Linked DNA regions of Homo sapiens: region 1 is linked to region 2. The links are contacts of gene promoters, found by promoter capture Hi-C in human tissues and cell types (Jung and others, 2019). All regions are on one chromosome and are shown on one strand. Each heading gives the region's core, a stretch centred on a gene start or on the middle of the fragment in contact. The rest is flanking DNA. Distances are from core to core; before and after follow the strand shown. Region 1 overlaps ZNF532 (zinc finger protein 532). Region 2 holds the start of ALPK2 (alpha kinase 2).

What was found. The method cuts DNA at HindIII sites, captures the fragments that hold promoters and counts their contacts. A contact is called where the count stands out against the background at its distance.
Region 1: a fragment that was not itself captured here is called in contact with the fragment with the promoter of ALPK2 in region 2 in 1 of the 25 tissues and cell types used here (mesenchymal stem cells).

Annotation. Positions count from the first base shown.
Region 1 is chr18:58,980,092-58,985,461 of GRCh38, forward strand. It overlaps ZNF532 (zinc finger protein 532), which reads left to right. Exons shown (of 10, transcript NM_001375912.1): 9 at 1,379-1,526; 10 at 3,881-5,370. The coding sequence ends at 4,375. Among named protein-coding and RNA genes, the nearest start is that of ZNF532, 120 kb to the left of the region's middle. RefSeq lists an enhancer at 3,519-4,718. The HindIII fragment of the contact is 3,204 bases long and covers 1-2,923 here.
Region 2 is chr18:58,626,954-58,632,139 of GRCh38, forward strand. It overlaps ALPK2 (alpha kinase 2), which reads right to left and starts at 2,138. Exons shown (of 13, transcript NM_052947.4): 1 at 1,811-2,138. It also overlaps the pseudogene RPL9P31. RefSeq lists an enhancer at 2,155-2,697. The HindIII fragment of the contact is 9,768 bases long and covers 142-5,186 here.

The DNA.
Region 1 (5,370 bases), core at 72-2,571, 350 kb after region 2:
GTCAGTGCAGGCCAGATGGACCCTATGGATCAGGAGACTTATGAAGGTTGGCTGTCAGATTCGCAGGGGGTTATGATAACCGGGTAGGAATCATCTGATTCAGTGAAATTGAAGCTGTTTAGTGAGATAAGAATGATTATGAATAAAGTATGTGTTGAGACCAAATCAAAAGAATCAGAATTTAGAAGGATGCTCTGGGCCAAGAAGACGATGGGAGATCTGGCCCATAATGCTTCACTGATAGGTTTTGTTTATTTCCCCATGAACTCACTGTAAAGCAGTAAAATGCTGGGATTGTTCTGCTAACTTACGGCCAACAAAAAATTCATCCTCATGGAGAGCCCTCGTCCTTTGGGGGTGGTGCTGGCTCCTGCCACTGCCCTGCAAGTGTCTCTAATGTGAGGTCATCAGGGTTTAGGGCCAATCAGTATGAATTCCTCCGAAGCTATTTTGAAGGCAGATTTGAGACCACAAGAGACTTTTTGTCCTTCCCTCAGTAGCATTCTTGATACCTGGTTTTATAGCATACATAATAACTAGGGCCATTACCTCTTTTTTTTCTTTTTTTGAGACGGAGTTTTGCTTTTGTTACCCAGGCTGGAGTGCAATGGCATGATCTCGGCTCACCCTACCCTCCACCTCCTGGGTTCAACCGATTCTCCTGCCTCAGCCTCCCGAGTAGCTGGGATTACAGGCATGCACCACCATGCCCGGCTAATTTTGTATTTTTAGTAGAGACAGAGTTTCTCCATGTTTGTCAGGCTCATCTCAAACTTCCGACCTCAGGTGATCTGCCTGCCTCGGCCTCCCAAAGTGCTGGGATTACAGGCGTGAACCACTGCACCTGGCCAGCCTGTTTTCTAAACTATCTTTGGCCTGCTTTATTAAAATAAGTTTTTCTTTGAAAAATAATTGACCTATTTTTGATCTGCTTATCATCTACTGAGTGACCATACACACTCGACTGCCATGAGTATAAACATGCATGCTGCTTTTGTGCCTGGAAGAATTTGGCGCTGGACACTCATGTCTTTGTCAAGGCAGAGGACAGGGATAATTAACAGCAGCACAAAGGAGTCAAGGAGGGACCTTATACTAATGTGTTCAGCATGGTGCTCATTCTGAGAGAATACTGAGTCATTGTGAAAACTTCTTTTGAAATGCAATATTTTCCCTTTAAAATTAAAGCCATCTAGACCTGTAAATTAAGGGCCACTCCTAGCAAAATTGCTGATTGCGTGTTGAACCATGGTGTGAACTCAGCTTATTGGACCTGTCTGTGTGAACTGACGGCTAAGGAGGACCTTCGACCGTGAGTTCTTCCACAGGAGCTTATTTTGTCAGCAAGTGCGTTATCTCCTTGCCTTTCACCCCACAGGCACTGCCCAGACTCCAGACGTACCTTTACCAAACGTTTGATGCTGGAGAAGCACGTCCAGCTGATGCATGGCATCAAGGACCCTGACCTGAAAGAAATGACAGATGCCACCAATGAGGAGGAAACAGAAATAAAAGAAGACACTAAGGTCTAACATTGCAGATGTTTGCTTTACAGTGAAATTGTGTTGACTTGCTTTTCCCATTCATTTTTTTCCTTTCAAGTTTTTGTTGCATAGTTACAGTTTTAAAAATTCAGACTGGCTGGGTGCGGTGGCTCATGCCCACCACTTTGGGAGGCCGAGGCGGGTAAATCACGAGTTCAGGAGTTCAAGACCAGCCTGGCCGACATGGTGTAACCTCATCTCTACTAAAAATATAAAAAATTAGCTTGGCGTGGTGGCGGGCTCCTGTAATCCCAGCTACTCAGGAGGCTGAGGCAGGAGAATCGCTTGAACTTGGGAGGTGGAGGTTGCAGTGAGCTGAGATCATGCCACTGCACTCTAGCCCAGGCGACAGTGCGAGACTCTCCCAAAAAAAAAAAAAAAAAAAATCAGACCACACTGAAAGTATAAAATAATGATTAATCTCCCCATAGACCCATTCTGACCTCATCATCAGGAGTTCGAGACCAGCCTGGCCAACATGGTGAAACCCCATCTCTACTAAAAAAATACAATACAAAAATTAGCCAGGCATGATGGCAGGCGCCTTAATCCCAGCTACTTGGGAGGCTGAGGCAGGAGAATCGTTTGAACCCAGGAGGCAGAGGTTGCAGTAAGCCGAGATAAAGCCATTGCACCCAAACCTGGGGGACAAGAGCAGGACTTTTTTTGTTTTTTTGAGAGAAAAGTTTAAAGAAATAGTTTAGGCCGGACACAGTGGCTCATGCCTGTAATCCCAGCACTTTGGGAAGCTGAGGCGGGCAGATCACTTGAGGCTAGGAGTTCGAGACCAGCCTGGCCAACGTGGTGAAACCCCGTCTCTACTAAAAGTACAAAAATTAGCCAGGCGTGGTGGTGCACACCTGTAATCTCCAGCTACTCAGGAGGCTGAGGCAGGAGAATTGCTGGAACCTGGGAAGCAGAGGTTGCAGTGTGCCAAGATCACGCCACTGCACTTTAGTCTAGGCAATAGAACGAGACTCTGTCTCCACCCCCCCAAAAAAAGTTAGCAGATACTTAAAAAGCCCTCCTGTCTTCGGTGCTATGCTAGATCTGGAATGTACCCAGGTAAAAGCTTGTATGTGCTTTCAAGGAGTTAATCATCGAGTAAAACCTCCTCAGAATATAAGTCAGACTGATGTGGCATTAAAATGCAATACTTCAAGTGCTCCTGGTGGTGAGTTAAAGAATATGTGTGAAGCCAAGGCGTGGTGGCTCACACCTGTAATCCCAGCACTTTGGGAGGCCAAGGCAGGCAGTCACGAGGTCAGGAGTTCGAGACCAGCCTGGCCAATATGGTGAAACCCTGTCTCTACTAAAAATACAAAAATTAGCTGGACATCGTGGTGCACACGTATAGTCCCAGCTACTTGGGAGGCTGAGACAGGAGAATCGCTTGAACCCGGGAGGCCGAGGCTGTAGTGAGCCGAGATCATGCCATTGCACTCCAGCCTGGGCAATAGCGCGAGACTCCGTCTTAAAAAAAAAGAAAGTGTGTGCAAAGGTAGCTTCAGGTCATGGCCACGTGTGAAGGTGCACATGAACAGAGCAGAAAAGCTGGGGCACAGAGTGCGGAGAGGAGGGGCACGTTGGCTTGGGGAGGGGATTCAGAGTGGGATTTAGAGCCCTGGAAGCAGACGCAGTAGGGGAAATGGTGTGAAGGTGAGGAGGCAGGAAAGGGTGGGGAAAGCTTCCAGAGGCTCTCAGTCTAAAAGCAAAATCCTGACACTCTCTCCCACAAGGGGCGTTACAGTTCACCTCCTGCAGTCTCCCTGAGCACTCCTTCCTACTGGCTCTAGCCCCTCTTCTGTTGCCCACTCACAGGCCTGTTCCCACCTTGGGCCTTGGCACTCACAGCTTCCTATGCCTGGACTGCTTTCCCGACACTGCGTCAGGTCTCTTTTCAAATGTCACCTGTCACCAGGCTGTCCCTGACCGTACCACATCACCTAGCAGCCACACATATACCCCCCCCTTGCTTCCCATGGCCCTCATCCCACCCTGCTTGGCTGTCCTGGGTCTGACATACTGCATATTTTCTCATTTGTTTCTGTTCATCTAACTCCGCTGCCACAAATTTCAGGAAGCTAGGAGCTCATTTGTCCACTGTTGTGCCCCACTGGCAGAGCAATGCCTGCTAACAGCTACTAGGTTTCTCTGTGGAGTGGAAGAAAGGCATGGGCCTCCGGGTGGGGTGGCAGACACAGCTTTAAAGCCCCTAAATCCCAAAGCGTTCAGCACAAGTTTTCCTGGCAGCTCTAAAGTAAGAGAACCGATCATTTATCAACCACCGTGAAGGATGGTTTTCAGTCGTGTCATTTGCTTTCTTTCCCTGAAAGGTCCCCAGTCCCAAGCGGAAGTTGGAAGAACCAGTTCTGGAGTTCAGGCCTCCCCGAGGAGCAATCACTCAACCACTGAAAAAGCTGAAAATCAATGTTTTTAAGGTTCACAAGTGTGCCGTGTGTGGCTTCACCACCGAAAACCTGCTGCAATTCCACGAACACATCCCTCAGCACAAATCGGATGGTTCTTCCTACCAGTGCCGGGAGTGTGGCCTCTGCTACACGTCTCACGTCTCTCTGTCCAGGCACCTCTTCATCGTACACAAGTTAAAGGAACCTCAGCCAGTGTCCAAGCAAAATGGGGCTGGGGAAGATAACCAACAGGAGAACAAACCCAGCCACGAGGATGAATCCCCTGATGGCGCCGTGTCAGACAGAAAGTGCAAAGTGTGCGCAAAAACTTTTGAAACTGAAGCTGCCTTAAATACTCACATGCGGACACACGGCATGGCCTTCATCAAATCCAAAAGGATGAGCTCAGCCGAGAAATAGCCACAGATGCTCCATGAGGAAAATCCCTGTCCACATTGGAATAAAAAAGACATTTTTGTTACAAAGTTTGCAGTATAATAGAGTTAACAGTACTGTCTAGGCTGTTGCAATATATTCTCTTTCAATGTACCTTCCTTCACCTCGTCGTATATATCCTCGATAAGTATTAAAACAGTATTTGAGTTTAAAAGAGTTTGTATATATTTAAATGAATAACTTTTTATACTCTTTGTTACATGTTTGTATCAGTATTTAGTGGAAAACCATTTGAGTTGTTTTGGGTTAGAATTTTTCTTTTTGTACTGTTTCTTTAAAACAGAGTTCTTAGTAACAGGGGCAGTTCCTGAATTCAAATAAACCATTTTGTATGTTTGGATTTTGAATGGGTTAACTAATTACAGGCTAAAATAATGCCTTTTTTAGTGTTTTTAATTTTTAGAATTCACTACATAAATTGTAAGTAATTGTGGGTCTCAAAAACACTAGGAACTTTTAAGTGTCTTAGCACTTCCTCGATGTGCCTGCCCTGAGGGAGTGAGTTCACATTTGAGACAACTGCACTCCAGTGTGGACGTGCCTTTGTCTTCAGGCCATGCCGAAGGGTGTTTAAAGCAGTCTTGCAGGTCGCTCCTTTCCCAGCCGTGGATAAAAACTGAAGCTAGGAATCTAATAAGGAATGCTGATTTCCTCAGTTCCATTTTGAGGAATGGGGAAGGCTATTCTAAAGAAAAAAATGGGATTTGTTTTCTCGGCAGATCTGCAAGGCTGGCTTTAAGAGCACAAGGAGGGAAAGTAACGAAAGGGCTGGACTACTATAAAAGTTACAAATACGTAGTTAGACCAATAGATTTATATAGTCAGGTTTTTGTCATGTAATTTATTAACTAACTATTACAGAAACACAGCTAAGAATATCAAGTATTTCTCTGGCTCTTGACAGAAAAAAATCAGTTGACTTAACCCTTTGCTGTCAAAAGAGTTGGCGTTTCCTGTTC
Region 2 (5,186 bases), core at 888-3,387:
ACATACTTTAGGTATATTTATTCATCTAATCCCCCATCAATCCTGTTAAAGTGAATACTGTTAAGATTTTACAGATGAGTAAACTGGGGTTCAAACAGGTTGAAAAGTTATGCTAAAATTAGGAGTCGATTCCAAATCTGACTCCAAAGCCTTTCTCAGGACCTCCCCTGCTTCTCCCACCTCCATCCAGAGTAAGATACTAACTCAACTGCATCGCATCACAGGGGCTGATACCTACACACAAGTGTTCAGGAGGCTGTTAAAAACTCATGAAACTGGAGGAGAAAAAAACTTTGTAGGTAATGACAATAGGAACTCTGCCCTACCTAAAAGCTTCCCAAAATTATGATTAAATGTTTGGTAAAAACATCAAAAAGACAATGTAGGCCAGGCGCGGTGGCTCACGCCTGTAATCCCAAGACTTTGGGAGGCCGAGGCGGGTGGATCACCTGAGGTCAGGAGTTCAAGACCAGCCTGGCCAACATGGTGAAACCCCATCTCAACTAAAAATACAAAAAAAATTAGCTGGGCATGGTGGCAGGCACCCGTAATGCCACCTACTTTGGGAGGCTGAGGCAGGAGAATCGCTTGAACCCAGGGGGCGGAGGTTGCAGTGAGCTGAGACTGAGACATTGTACTCCAGCCTGGGCAACAAGAGCAAAACTCTATCTAAAAACAAAAAACAAACAAACAAAACAAAACAAAAAAAGGACAATGTATATTTGGGAGCTAAAGTTCATTTAGTTTGTTTTAAGTCCTGATTTCCAAGATCTGAACATGGTTATTGGCCATCCATGCTTTTTAATACAGGATTTGTGAAGTTGTTGATTCGGAAGGTAACCCACAACATCCTTGGTTTCAATTCAGAAGCCACACAGCAAAAAACCCCTTCAATTTGTCCTTAGTTGATATAGAGTTATAAAACATATCACATATCTCTGGAATGACCATTCCTGGTTAATTAATCTTTAGAAATAAAGGCTACCTTTACTTAAGGAAAAGGTTGTGGAAAGAAAATAATTAGAGCAGAAGCAGCTCTAAATGCCGTTCTTGCTTTTATCTATTTTTAAATGATTGCCAAATGTCTGTAACTGACACCCTTAATCAAGGCTTTTAAAGTTTAGATGTGTTCATTAAATTGTAATGTGACAGTGGTGGCATTTAATTGATGGATTTTTTTTTGGCTGACTTTTTGCCTTAAATTTTTTTTTAAATCTATTTAACAACTCGATAAATGTTTACATCAGCCATTTTGAAAAGCCTGATAGCTTTTCAGCAAATTGCATTACCTGTTGTCAGACAATATACTCCTGTGTCTACCCAGATAGGAGAGATTTTCAATCATTCAGTTAATTCACAGTAAAAGGAATAACTCTTGACTAAAATACTCAAATATTTCAGACAAAAGTCTCTGGGGCCTGAGTTACCTGGATAGTTGACTTTTTATGTTGCTTTGCAAAACTTTACATATCACTCGTTTGAGTCATTCTGTATATTTTTTCTAACTGTTAAGATAGACATGATGTGAAAGAAACTGTTTTCATTCATTATTGTCAAGCCAAAATAAGCAAATTTAAAAATAGCAATAATTTTCAAAAAGGGTCAAAATGGACTTAAATTACAAGACCATGAGAGTTTGCCCACTTTAAAACCTTATATGCCCAAATATCCCATATAATCCCTATTGGTTTCATCTCATTCTATTTCATCAGGAAACCATCTGCTTTGTTCTTTGTTGCAGAAAATGTAAACAACTATATATTGAAAGCACAGCCATTCCTTATGTAAAAACCAAAGTCTACATACTTACTTTTCAGTACTCTTTGTCCAAGAAATGTTGTAGGAGGGCTGGCTCAGCTGTGGATTCCCCAGGCTGTGTGTGAGGCATTGATTGGGTGTCCCTGTTCCCGGGACAGGGATTCAAAGGAGTTTATAGGGCTCAGGGTCTTCCATGATCAGGTCAAAGCATAGATGGGTCTGCTTCCAGAAAGTTCATCTCTTCCTAAGAGGGGAAATTCCATGCCCGGGGAAGTTCTGGAAGAAGAGCATTTTTTCCCCGCCCTTCAGTGAACTAGGTCATTGCTGAAGCTGGAGAATATATTTTAGCATCCCTGTGATGAAACTTGAGGGCTGTTTCTGCAGTAGGTGCGACACTTGTTGACACGACACGCTGGGGAGGCCCTGGCAAGGGGGCCTGGTGAAATGCAGCCCCAGGGAGCTGATGAAACCCAGACGAGCTGTCACTGGCTGCTGCTCAGGAGACCGAGCAGCTCTTTACAAAGCCCATGCTGGACCCTGGGCTTAGTTGCTCGCTCCTTAGGAAAGGAAAAACTTGCTGCCTGATAAAGGGATTAAGGCCGGAGTAACACAACCAGTTCTCATACCAAGGTTATCAGGCATTTGAAGTACACATAGGAAACCCGTGGAGGGGGTGTTGGGGAGGTGAAAATATGTGTCATATGTTGTTCATTTAGAACAGGCATTATAGCCATCCTCTGAAGTTCTCTGAGAAAGGCAGAAGCCACAGAAGGAAGGCAGGATCCACCCTCCTCACCCTGCTTACCCCCCCTTACCCCTTGTCTGTCTGTCTGTCTCTCTCTCTCTCTCTCTCACACACACACACACACACACACACACACACACCCCTTCCTATTTTGACTACGATAGAAGAGAACAGACAAAGATCAGAAGAAATCCACAGAAGAAATACCACAGGTCCTATTCCTTCAGATTGCCTGGAATGGTTCTTGTTGGGAAAGTAGATTTTGTAATATGGGCAATTCTTTTATTGAAGTTTATCCAAGTCCAAAAACATAGAGAATCCTTTAGCATCATTCTGTAACTACTTAGCCTCTCCCCAAAAATATTTTAATGTATGACACCTGGAAATTGACAGCTTAGACAGAAACCTCTTTTGAGACTCGTGGAGACAGCTCAAATTAGCAGCTCCAGGGGTGACTTTGAAAGGGACATAGCTGTAAATATTCACTCTGTGTAGGGCACTGCAATCCTCAAAAGCAAATTGTTTTTACACAGCACAGAATGTACATCATTATCCCTTGATGGAATGCAACTTTTCACAAGATGAAAACTCATCTAAAACGATAAAATATTAAGAAATGTAGGGGTGATATGTTCTGTTTTTCAGTTTTATCTTCATGTGAGAAAAAAGATATTAAAGCTGAGGCACTGTAAAATAATGACTATCTCCTGGGGAACACATCTGTGAAATGCCACAGAACACAGAAATTACCAACTCTTTGCAAATGGTCGGCTTTATGGAAAGCTGAGGTCTTCACAATGTAAGGTCTTTTCCAGATAAGAAAGAGGAGATAACTTCAAGTTGGGAATGAAGAGAGGAGGAAAGTGTGATGATAAAGAATAAACAAATGCTGTCGCACACCACAGAGAGAATAAAGTCAAAAGTGAAGGAATGTCCCAAAGCAATAGATAAATGTGATATGGTTGTGAAAGAAGTGTTGCCTGGGAGTTATTAAATGGAAAAGTTGAAATTCACTATGAAACTTAATTTTGTTCCTCTGAAATAATTTGAAAAACCAATTCCCTCAACTCCCAACATTCATCTCCTAGCAAAATAAATGTAAAGAGCAGAAGGTTTATATATGTGCATATATAGATACACACACACACACACACACACACATACACACATATACATGCATGCATACACACATACATGCATATATATACACACACGTACATACATACATATAATGGATTTAACTGTATTTGTTTTATTCATCTCATGAATTTACAGCCACAGAATTTATGTTTTAATCTTAGGTGTCGGGGAGGAAGCATGAAAGAAAATCAGAAACAGAAATCTTGGAATTAAACTCAAATTAGGCCTGTAATCCCTGCACTTTGGGAGGCCGAGGCAGGTGGATCACTTGAGGTCCGGAGTTCAAGATCAGCCTGGCCAACATGGTGAAACCCCCCGTCTCTACTAAAATATAAAAAATAGCTGGGTGTCATGGCTCACGCCTGTAATCCCAGCTACTCAGGAGGTTGAGGCAGGAGAATTGTGTGAACCCAGGAGGTGGAGGTTGCAGTGAGCCAATATCACTCCACTGTACTCCAGCCTGAGGGACAGAGCAAGACTCCATCTCAAAAAAAAAAAAAAAACCTCAAATTAGACCAGGACACTAGTTCTGAATTTTCTGTGAATATCAAAGGAGGGATGGAAGAAGTAAGACGTTGAAGAGAAAAAGAAAGGCATGTATCTGTGCCCTGCTAATAGCATCAAAAAATACATGACTCTCTTTATCACATCTACTGCAAGATTGAAGACCATTCTTCGCAATCAGACTCTTGACATTCCCAAAGATGTCAACATCACTCCGAAGGGACACAGTTATTGTGAAGGGCCCCAGAGGAACCCTGTGGAGGGACTTCACTTACATCAGTGGAGAATTCAGTCTCCTTAGAAAGGAAAAGAAGAGGCTCCAGGTTGACAAAGTGTGGGGAAATAGAAAGGACCTGGATACCATTGGCACTATTTGTAGTCACAAACAGAACATGATCCAGGGTGCTGCACGGGGCTTCTGTTGTAAGACGAGAGCTGTGCATGCGCACTTCCCCATCAACATTGTTAGCCAGGAGTCTTTTGTTGAAATCTGAAATTTCTTGGGTGAAAAATAAATCTGCAGGGTTTGGATGAGGCCAGGTGTTGCTCATTCAGTATCTCAAGCCCAGAAAGACGAGTTAGTTCTTGAAGGAAATGATATTGAACTTGTTTCAAATTCAGCTGCTTTAATTCAGCAAGCCACAACAGTTAAAAACAAGGATATTGGCAAAGAGCAGGGGCTCATGCCTGTAATCCCAGCACTTTGGGAGGCTGAGACGGGTGAATCCTTTGAGCTCAAGAGTTTAAGACCAACCTGGGCAATATGGTGAAACCCCATCTACAAAAAAAATACAAAAATTAGCCAGGTGTGGTGGCGTGTGCCTGTAGCCCCAGCTACTTGAGAGGCTGAGGTGGGAGGATGGCTTGAACCCAGGAAGCTGAGGCTGCAGTGAGCCGTATTCATGCCCACTGCACTCCAGCCTGGGTGACAGAGTGAGATCTTACCTCAAAAAAAAAAAATCAGAAAATGTTTGGAGGGTATCTGTATCTCTGAACAAGGAACGGTTCAGCAGCCTGATAAATAAGATCTAAGAGTTGT